2 separate regions of the Homo sapiens genome follow, and region 1 is linked to region 2. Evidence: promoter capture Hi-C in 16 types of primary human blood cells and fetal thymus (Javierre and others, 2016). All regions are on one chromosome and are shown on one strand. The core of a region is centred on a gene start or on the middle of the fragment in contact, and the rest is flanking DNA. Distances in the headings are between cores, read along the strand shown.

The links. Contacts are between HindIII fragments. The CHiCAGO score rates a contact against its expected background, and 5 or more counts as called.
Region 1: a fragment that was not itself captured here is called in contact with the fragment with the promoter of MRPL43 in region 2 in 2 of 17 cell types (M0 macrophages and naive CD4 T cells); the score reaches 5.5 in M0 macrophages.

What each region holds. Positions count from the first base shown.
Region 1 is chr10:100,544,855-100,550,227 of GRCh38, reverse strand. HIF1AN (hypoxia inducible factor 1 subunit alpha inhibitor) reads right to left here. Exons shown (of 8, transcript NM_017902.3): 4 at 5,132-5,277; 5 at 4,179-4,285; 6 at 3,647-3,710; 7 at 2,978-3,088; 8 at 1-2,135. The coding sequence ends at 2,091. Among named protein-coding and RNA genes, the nearest start is that of HIF1AN, 12 kb to the right of the region's middle. The HindIII fragment of the contact is 4,435 bases long and covers 1,021-5,373 here.
Region 2 is chr10:100,983,984-100,988,922 of GRCh38, reverse strand. MRPL43 (mitochondrial ribosomal protein L43) reads left to right here and starts at 1,426. Exons shown (of 3, transcript NM_032112.3): 1 at 1,426-1,610; 2 at 1,727-1,833; 3 at 1,948-2,654. The coding sequence starts at 1,480. The coding sequence ends at 2,189. TWNK (twinkle mtDNA helicase) reads right to left here and starts at 1,380. Exons shown (of 5, transcript NM_021830.5): 1 at 1-1,380. The coding sequence starts at 712. SEMA4G (semaphorin 4G) reads right to left here. Exons shown (of 15, transcript NM_017893.4): 15 at 3,307-4,939. The coding sequence ends at 4,792. RefSeq lists an enhancer at 1,598-1,667. The HindIII fragment of the contact is 4,949 bases long and covers 1-2,837 here.

The sequences.
Region 1 (5,373 bases), core at 1,989-4,488, 440 kb after region 2:
AGTGAGACCTGTGTCAGCAAATAACTCAGCAAGGACCAGCTGAGTGCATGCCTCCTTGACACATCACCCACATCTTTGAGCGCTGAGCGAGGAATACAGCAGACCTGCTGAGGAGAACGAAAATAATCTACTATCTTTCCAAGTGTGACTGTGGCCAAGTTTTTCCTCCGCTCCTGTGCTCCTCTTTCCCAAAAGAAGTGGAGAGATAGAGATCACTGCAATCACATTTCCCAGCATTGACTATATTTGAAAGAGCTACACTTGAGAAGGTACCATATCTTCACATCCACACTGCATCAGAGAACCCCAGAATGGGGTACTAAAAATAAACACCCCTCCCCAAAAAACGCACTCAGGCATGCACACACATCCACACGCATCCTCTCAGTTCATCAGTGCACTATAACTGAGCTTCAGGGGTGAGAGCCAGAGCTCAGATGCTGGAAGTAAACCTTTGGCAAAAAAAAAAAAAAAGAAAAGAAAACCAGAGACCTTCCAACTCCTCTTCCCTTCCAGAGAGAAGGTGATGAAGACAGGAGCAGAGGTGAGGAGACACAGGGCCACCACACTGCCCAATCCCAGGGACCCCACTCCCACTGAATAGATGTGAATGATGGCCCTTCAAGTTGTGCAATCACAGCTGCCCACCTGTAAGCTGCAGCCCTGAGAGGGGTTCCCAGGAGTAGCTCCTAACAGAAAAGGAAATTCGACTTCCATGCTCCACCAGTTGCCCTGACTATTGAGGGTGTTGTGGCACATTACAACGGGGTCTGGCAGAGGAGCTGGCTTTAAGACGCAAGCCTATGTGTTTGCCCGTGCCCTGAGGTGGATCACAGGTAGTGAATGAGCTGCCTGGGCTTGACCCCATTTCATCTATTCAGCCAGGAAGCTCAGCAGGAATAAAGGATATGGCCTGGGCAGGGAGCATCATAGGGCCTGGAGGCTCTAGCCAGTTAGCCTCGGGCAGGCTGCAGTGAGACCTGGCCAACATATGATGGCTAAAATCCAAGTGTAAAAGCTTAGGATAGGTCAGGCAGTACTTCCCGGGGGCTCACACTGTACTGTCCCACTGGAAAAGGTAAGCAGTGGAGAACCTTGGTAAGTAGGGAGGCTGGCCAGTGTGGACACACACACACACACACACGGACACACACACACACACGCACGCACACACACACACACACCCAGAGGCTTGCACCCCTAGTGTGGATACGCACACACAGACACACACAAACAAACACACAGAGGCTTGCACCCCTAGAACCTAGAGAAGCCACAGCTAGGAGAACTCCCTTGGTACCCAGCATAGGGGCAAGAGCTGGTGCTGAAAGAGAGAAACTATATGTGTCTCTAATTTAGAACTTATGCACAATCATTGGTTCTTATGTCCCAAGGTCCTTTTATGTATGGCTTGAGCTTGTAGGCCCAGTTGGAACCCTATCTAATCCTCTCTCACAGGAAGGCTATATAGGCTCTCAAAGGCAAGCCTCCCCTCTCTTTCACCCCATTAGAGTCCCGGTAGCCATTCCCATACCGCCTAGAGCTTGACTACGCAAAAACTGTCAGGAGGCAGACTGACCTAATGGTCAGACTAGCTCTGGCCCTGCAGCCCAGATGCAGTGGGGAGTCCAAGAGCATCTCATCTCTCTCTCAGGCTGAGGCACTGAGGTTGCAGGAGATAGGGCTGAGAGCCGGAAGTGACAGCCTGACCCAGAAGGAACAGGGAACAGATACATACATGCGTGTGCATGCACACACACGCACACATTCCGAAGTTGACAGACTAACATACACACAGACATGATGACAACCAAAAGCTGGGACTCCACACACTGAATGCAGGACTTTAGGCGGGGGGCAGAGAGAGAAGGTGCTGGGGCACAAGAGGCAAGGGTATGAAGTCCCTCCAAATAGGAGTGGAGTGCCAACTGCCCTGCCTCGCTCCAAACACCTGACTCCTGGGCCATGGCAAGAGTCCAGTCCATTAAGTGCAGCGTGCAATACTAGCGCTTGGAGTCTCCTGTCCTCATCAATGAAGCGGTGTGGACGGGATAGCAGTCACCTGGCAGGAGGCCTTGACCCCTGGCAGGCTAGTTGTATCGGCCCTTGATCATTGTGTTCAACAAGGGCCCCACCTGTAAAGAAACATGAGGAGCCAATCAGAACTGGCTGTTCCCTGGCCCTGGAATTGGACAGGGTGTGTCTGGAGACATCAGATGTCCAGCCAAGGACAGAGACAATGTTTTCATACAATCTTGTGAATCCTCTAATCACCTATCTTCCTGAAGGTCAACCCAGTATTCTGGGACATAGTCTTTCCCTCAGGGGTCCATCTTGTACTATTATTCTTCTCTCGCACAACACCGTCTCTTACCGTAATCTGCCCCAAACGGACAGACATGGTCAGAGAAGCTAATAATCCCCGAACACCCAAGAGTGTCTATATGTTTCTCCAGAATGTTAACTGCCTCCATATCCTCAAAAAATGATCATCTGCAACTGGGGCTGATGCTATCTCCCAACACCACAGGTGTCTGTGGATGCTGAGGTTACCTCCAAGAGGCAAGCAAGAACCCTACAAATACAAACCTCCCCCATTTACCCAATGGGCCACTGGCACACCTGCATGGGAAGCAGGTCTCTCAACATTACCTACAGCAGCCCTGGCACAGCTGGGAAAGTGCAAGGAGATGTGTTAGTGCTCGCTTCCTGTTCCAGAAGAATCCCCTCAGGGGGTCCCCAGATGGTACATAATACCCATGGGGAACATTACTACTAGCATGGAACTAATTATAATTGATCTGCCAGTCAAGCCCAGCTATCACCAGAAAACAAGAATTTTTCTGAACATACCCATAACCTCTATGGAGAGAGAGGACACCAGACACTGAAACACAGAAGCTGTAAAGAATGTCGCTCTGATCCTGACTTTCCTTGGTCAACCCACCCACTGAGCCACCTTGGGGCAGTCACCTACCTCTTGTGGGTTCCCCAAGGCCTCTCCAAGCATCTTCTCAATGTTTCTCATTATGGCCACTTTCTGATGAGCTTTGAGAGGATATTCAATTCTCTTAGGGGTGGGAGCCCCCTACAAAGGAAGCAGTAGCTCAGGAAATGCCTTTAGCAGCAGGCGTCAGTGTCACTCTACTGTTCTTAGTACCATCCTCCCTTCTAAGAAACCCAATTCTTGCCGGGCACGGTGACTCAGGCCTATAATCCCAGCACTTTGGGAGGCCGAGGCGGGTGGATCACTTGAGGTCAGGAGTTTGAGACCAGCCTGGCCAACATGGTGAAACCCCATCTCTACTAAAGATACAAAAATTAGCCAGGCATGGTGGTGTGTGCCTATAATCCCAACTACTCGGGAGGCTGAGGCAGGAGAATCACTTGAACCCGGGAGGCAGAAGTTGCAGTGAGCCGAGATCACGCCACTGCACTCCAGCCTGGGGAATAGAGCAAGACTCTGTCTCAAAAAATATATTTAAAAAAAAGAAACCCAATTCAATCCTGTCCCTTTCATCTCCCCAGACACCTGACAATCACTTCCAGGGATAGTCAACCATCCCATCCAAAATCATTTATTATACCTACCTCACCCAAGAGCCAGTTCCATCTGGAAAAAACAAAAAAAGCAAACCATATTCACCTTATACCAGAAGTTCACAGTGATGGTAATCCCCCCATTTAGTAATGACTCTATGTGATGCCACCTGCAAGAAAACAAACAGGCTCCTGTTTACTACTGATACTTTTGGCGGGGGCGGAGGGGCGAAGTGCGGGGGGGTGGCAGGGTTGGGCTGAAAAACTAGGTGGAGTCCAGTTACGGAAAATAGTGAAGACAATATCTTTACACTCATCCTGTGAAAAAAACACACACTTGGGGGTTAGAGGTACTGGTGTTCAGTCTCGAAATACCAAAGAGCCAAGAACAGTTTTTCTAGGCTCAAGCCTCCGGAATCTCTTTGGACTTGAAGAACCGTCATCCTGTCCTAGAGACAGGGCTATCATTCCCGCCACTATCCCCCACAGGTTCAGTACGCTCATGTCTGGATATGCCAACCTTCCTATAGACCACATAAAACCAATCATGCCATAACTCAGAAGCGACACAGACAAGGCTTTCCAGGGAATGGAAAAGAAAGCTCCCAAAAAGCCCCCAGCCCTAGCCCCCTTCTCACCAGTACATTGGGATGTAAAGAACATCACCAGGGCCAACCACTGTTTCGTAACCAACCACATTTTGGAAATTAGGGAACCTCTCGTAGTCGGGATTGTCAAAGTCCACCTAAGAGGTTCAAGAGAAAGAAAAAAAATATCAATCACCAAATCTTCACCAGTAAAACTACTATATGCCAGTTTGGCAGTAAAAACAAACAAACAAACAAAAAAAAAACGATGCCTTAAAAAAAGTATTTGGAATTTATATCCAGCAGAAGATATAATGCACATTAAACCCTGAGAGAGAACAATATAAGACAGTCCACATTTGAATGTTAAGTGATAAAGAATCCTAGGCTTCAGTGCTCCTGAGGTCAGACGACCTACTCCACAGCTGAGGATATGAGGAATTAGGAATTATCCTCCACCTAAACCTTCAGAAACTTTTCCCAAAAACATATTCTAACCAGCAAAGACTCCCACATGAAGTAGCTAGACAGCTTTCTGAAGAAAGGAAAGGATATCTTTGGCTGGCCACAGTTAACCACATACCTCATTTAGATCTAGGAAATACATTAAACAACATAGCTCAGTTTTATTCACCCTTCTTATCAAAAAGAAATAGCATCCATGACAAAAGCAAACAATGATTAAATCCAATGGAGACATACACATTTTGTTCCATAAACTTATAAGCCAATCAAACAGAGTAACCAGAGTCCATCAGCATCAATGACAGTGTCTGTCCTGAGAATTAGCTCTGTGGGGCTAGTTATACTTACAAACATCTGGTGGCCACTCCAGGGAGCCTGGAATATGTGAGCTACAATGAAATTACCCTCTTGGTGTGTTAAGGCAAGAACAGCCTGTAATCCGAACCTGGCATATCACTACGGGGAAGGGGAAAGACATTCCAGCCTAGGCATTACTAGAATCTAGAGTTCTATACCCTTCTCAGACCACACAAGCTCACCTGGCTCTGTCTGTCACATGGGTGATGAACAGGGTATGGGTAGAGGCACTCGAACTGATCCGGAGGGAATAAGATGCATCGTTTGTAACCTTTTATCTGAGCAAAAAAGTTCTGCTGCTCATCATAGTGAGCAGGTGTCACATTTCCTGTAAGAAGAAAGGCATTTTCTTATGCAGAGCAGTGGTTCTATTGCATAAGCTGGAATACAGGACCCAGTGCTAAAGAGAAACCCAGCCTGCCCT
Region 2 (4,939 bases), core at 177-2,676:
TAGTGGTTTCCTCGTAGCTCACTCCATCCCCCTGGCATTTAGCCTCTAGGAGCTTCAGGCCTCGTAATCCTGAGCCCCCAGGGGAGAACCAAGGGAAGACAAGACTGCGAGCAGGTCGCAGATATCGCACACTGAAACGCTTGAGTGTGTCATCTGTAACCTTGGTAAGGCCAAACATTGTATCAGCCAGCTGAACCTCCTCCTGATCAGGCAGCTCCCAGAGAGGTATTGCTCGGTTCCAGATCCTCCGGACCTCCTCGCTGTCCTCAAATTCTGGTGCCTTGCTAAGCAGAAACCCCTCCCTGGCCCCATCCCCTCGCCCCTCCACGCTGGCCTGGAAGTCTTCCCAGCTCCCTTCTGCTAGGCTGGTCATGCAGAGAAAGTGGCCTGTGGTCTTGTCAATGAAGAGGCTGAAGGAAGTGGTAACACCAGTCTGGCCTTTGAGCTGTGAAGACTCTGCAAAGGGGCTCAGTGCCCGCAGGCAACTGTGACCATCCTGGAAGGGGATCCCATGCCCCCGCAAATACTGGCGGATTTCAGTTGCAGTTACAGGCAACACTGGCATATCCAAGGCTTGGAGAGTCTCCTTCCTGTAACGTCTGCGAGGAGGGCCTGGGGCCAAGTTTCGGGGCAGGCCCCTCCGACCCATCCACTCCCCACGCAGGGGTAACAAGATACGGAGGGGGTACCCACTTCGGAGGAGGACCCACATTCCTAGCCAAATGTGGGAAGTCACTACTTGAAATGCCTTAGGTGCCTGGTTAGCGTGCCTTCACTAGACCAAACTCTAGGGATATCCCACGCAGCACTCTGCAGAGCTCACTCTAGGTGCATTCTTTCTCTCCATGAATTTCTCCTCTTCAGCCCCTCTACGTTGCTGCTTCACACATATGCCCATCTACACGACCCTTTCGCGTCCACGTCCTTCTACAATGGCTCCCCCACCTCTATGGTCCGTTAGTTAGTTTCTCTCCGCCACCTCACCTCTATGACCCTCTATACAGTTCCTCACTGACACAGTTTCTTTGCATCATCTTCTCACCTCTACTGCTCCTCCACAGCATCTCCTCGTCGTCCTCATTTCTATAGTCATCTGCATCCTTTTTGTAGTCCCTTTGCCCTAGGCCCCGACTAGAGACCCTCTTCCGCTTCTCCTTCCCCTCACTGGGACCTCAACACGGCGAGAGCACCCAGCACGACTCCCGCCAATCCCCCGGCCCAAAGGAATGCCAGTCTCTATCCTCCCCCGTGTCTTCACTCCGCTCTACTACTCCGAGCTCCGCCGCGCCGGCCCCCAGCCCCAGGTTACCACTTTTCTCTCTCCCACTTCGCCGGCAACGTGAGTCTCCCGCACATGCTACTCGCCTTGACCTCGGAAGCAAAACTCCGGGAGCGGTCGTCCCGGAACCGGAAGCCTCGAGGTTTAGTCCCGCCCCCCTCTCCTCGCTGCTTAGGCTCCGCGGCCTCCAAGCTGTAGCTATGACGGCGCGCGGGACTCCGAGCCGCTTCTTGGCCAGCGTTCTCCACAACGGACTGGGTCGCTATGTGCAGCAGCTGCAGCGTCTGAGCTTCAGCGTCAGCCGCGACGGCGCCTCGTCTCGCGGCGCCAGGTGAGCCAAGGGAAGTGCGCAGGCGCGGGTCGGGGTGGGTGTGGAGGTGGCAACGACTCCCCGGGTAGGTCGCCCCCAGTCAGGGGTCATACTGCTCACTGTCCCGGGTCGCTTAGGGAGTTCGTGGAGCGGGAGGTGATCGACTTCGCCCGACGGAATCCAGGGGTCGTAATATATGTAAACTCGCGTCCGTGCTGCGTGCCCAGAGTAGTGGCCGAATACCGTGAGTGGGGCCGGGCTCGGGCTGGAGGGCGGGATCAGGGGCTCGACCCGCTATCCTCCTTCTCGCTTGGTCGCACCGGCCAGCTTCCACCCACTCTCACCCCTCTTCTGCCAGTTAACGGGGCTGTGCGCGAGGAGAGCATCCACTGCAAGTCGGTCGAGGAGATCTCGACGCTGGTGCAGAAGCTGGCCGACCAGTCGGGCTTGGACGTGATCCGCATCCGCAAGCCCTTCCACACCGACAACCCTAGCATCCAGGGCCAGTGGCACCCCTTCACCAACAAGCCGACCACGTTCCGCGGGCTACGCCCCCGAGAGGTTCAGGATCCTGCCCCAGCCCAGGTGCAAGCACAGTGAAGAGTTGCCCCACCAACTGCAGCCCCAGGCTTTGGACTGTTACTCCGGTAAAGGTGGTTCTTCCCCTTTGGGATTCCAAGCCCAGGCAAATGGAACCCATCAATGGGCAAGTTGACAGAGGTTCTGCTTGGGATAATGAAGAGCTGCCTGTTTCTTTCCAGTGCCTGCTTCTGGGGGCAGTGACCTTGTGAACCACTCATTTTTATGCAAGTGGCATCCCTAAAACCTGAGATGAGGAAGACTTCAAGGGTTTTACAGGGCCCTTGTTTTTTAAATCCAAATTGATAATAATGATCTCAAAACACAGTGAGAGGTCTGAAGGCTGGCTTCTGAAGAATCCCTGATGTCTTATTGGAACAACCACTGAGCTACGGAGAGCTCTGCTGTGATGGGCTAGGCACTTTATATCTGTGTGAATACAGATTTATAAAACAGGTTAATAAACTTATCCAAGGTCACATTTCAGGTCTGTCTTCAAAATGTGTGCATATGTTAAGCACAAGCCTCAGTTTTCATTATTTTAAAACTAGACGCAGAACATATAACAACTGTCAGGTGGTTAGTATCAAAGGCCAAGTGATTAATCTAGGCCTGACCCCTGAAAGGGAGAGGGGAGTGATTCTCAGACCAAGTCCTGGCTGACAAGCTTTCTCTGGTCTTAGCTATACATCTCCTTCCCCCCACGTCCCTCTTTGTGCAGAAATAAAATCCATGTCCCTTGAGCCAGCTGGTGGGGGGTGCTGAGAACCTTGGGGAAGGGCAGGAAGGCTGATATTAATGAGTATTTTCTAATCTTAGTTTAAAAAGGGGGGATGGTGGGGAAATGAGAGGCAGGAAATGAAAATCTAGAAACCCCTGTAAGAATTCTTGAACTGTTGTCATTTTCTTGTCATGCCCTAACACCATGATCAATGAATAGTGTGAACCTTACTAAAGAGGCCTGTGTGCCTGCCAAGGAGTCAGGATGGAAGCGGAGGATCCCAATTTCCTCTGCAAATAGTTGTATTGGGGAGCAGAGCCAATCCTGGAGGCAGATATCACCTTCTGTATAGGCTCAGGAGCCTGTCCCCTGGTGATCAGGGGTGGGCGCATCTAGATGAAGCAGACTAGTCATAGCTGTGGGGAAAAAGGGTGTTTATTAACCAACGGCAGGGGGAGGAGCTGAGCCCAGGCTCCCCACTCTGTCACATGCCTGTTCCACCCACCTGGTTGTAAGTGGGGGCATTCCTAAAGAAGTGTAGCCATTCTCACAATAAATACATTCATTGTGGGGTGGAGGTGGGAGAGGTTGGGTGAAGGGCAGTAAAAACCCGTGGGATTCCACGTTCTCAGCTACAAAAATAACAGTCATCCTCACCCGAGGGGAATGGGGGAGCTCAGTCAGAATTGATTGTCCCATATAGGCCTAGAGACTTCAGAGGCCCCTGGCCCCTGAAAGTGCCCCGGTGAGGTAGGACAGGGGTAGGAGCTAAGCGTCCAAACTCCCAGCCTCTGCCCTTTGCATAGTTCCAAGAATGGGCTTCATGTGCCAGTTGAGACATCAGATTTCTCCTCCCTTTCCCTGCTGTAGTCTAGAGGAAGCAAATGCTTGATTCCCCCAAAAGAGAGGCTGGCTCATTGAGTGCAGTGTTGGTCATCCATCCTAGGCAAGGGCCTGTGAGGACAGTTAAATGGGAGGGGGATCTCCCTCTGAAATGTCCACGGACTAAACCCAACAGACAGGTCCAAGACAGCAAGGGAGGCTCAGAGGTGCATGTGAGTGGAAATGTAAGCACATGTGTGATACAGGTGTGTGTTACCACATGTGCATGGGGATGGGACATGCCTGGAGCTCTGTCTCTCATACTCTTGAGAATGACCAAGGAGAGTGGGGAGGCTGATTCACAAGGGCCACACAGGAAGGGAGAGGAGGGGAGTGATGCAGTCTTACCTCCCCAGGCTGGCCCGTTCCCAAGCTCTTGACAAAGAGGTCACCACATGGGGCTGGGGAAGAGGACCAGATAGGATGTGGCAATTGGGAGGGTACCCCAAGTCCAGAAGCAGGGATGAAACAAGAATGCACCAGGAGAAGGTGAGGGTGGGGGCACTGCAGCCCAGCCGATAAACATTCTTCCATGTGTGCATGTGAATGTACGCAGGGCTTAGGTGGCTGGCAGAGGTCTTGTCTGGTTTCAGGACCATCCAGCACACAGGGCCATGCAGAGGGTGGTGACATTGAGCCCATATGGACCTGCAGAGCCCTGCCTGGGAGAAAGAGAAAGGGTTTGGGCAGATGAATGGAACAGGAGGATGGAGTCCTCACCTATAAGTGTTTAGGTTAGGGGATAGGAACTGGCTCTGGGTCTGCAGGGCACCTGATCCTGAGGGAGCACCTACCTCTGAGGAGCACCGATGGGCCTGGGCTGCTCACATGTGGGTCTGTGGAGACTGAGGAGGGGGCTTTGGCTGGGCCTGACTGGCCAGCCCTACAGGGACATCAAAAAGTTGGGAGAAGGGTATGGAGTGGGGGTAATGAAGGGAGGGTGGCTGTGTTAGGGAGGCAGTGGCCCAGCCTGGGACAGATAGGCTGGCTTGGAAGAGCATTTGTTCTGGGAGGCTGGGCTCAGACAGAGCTCTCATCTAGCTGCTCCACGAGCTGCGTGTGCTTCCTTTTTTCCAGGATGCGGCTGAGTTCCTCGGCGAAGGAGCAGGGCCCTGCTGGTACTCCATTGTTGCTCTGCCTCAGAAGCACATAGCTATTGCCATTCATC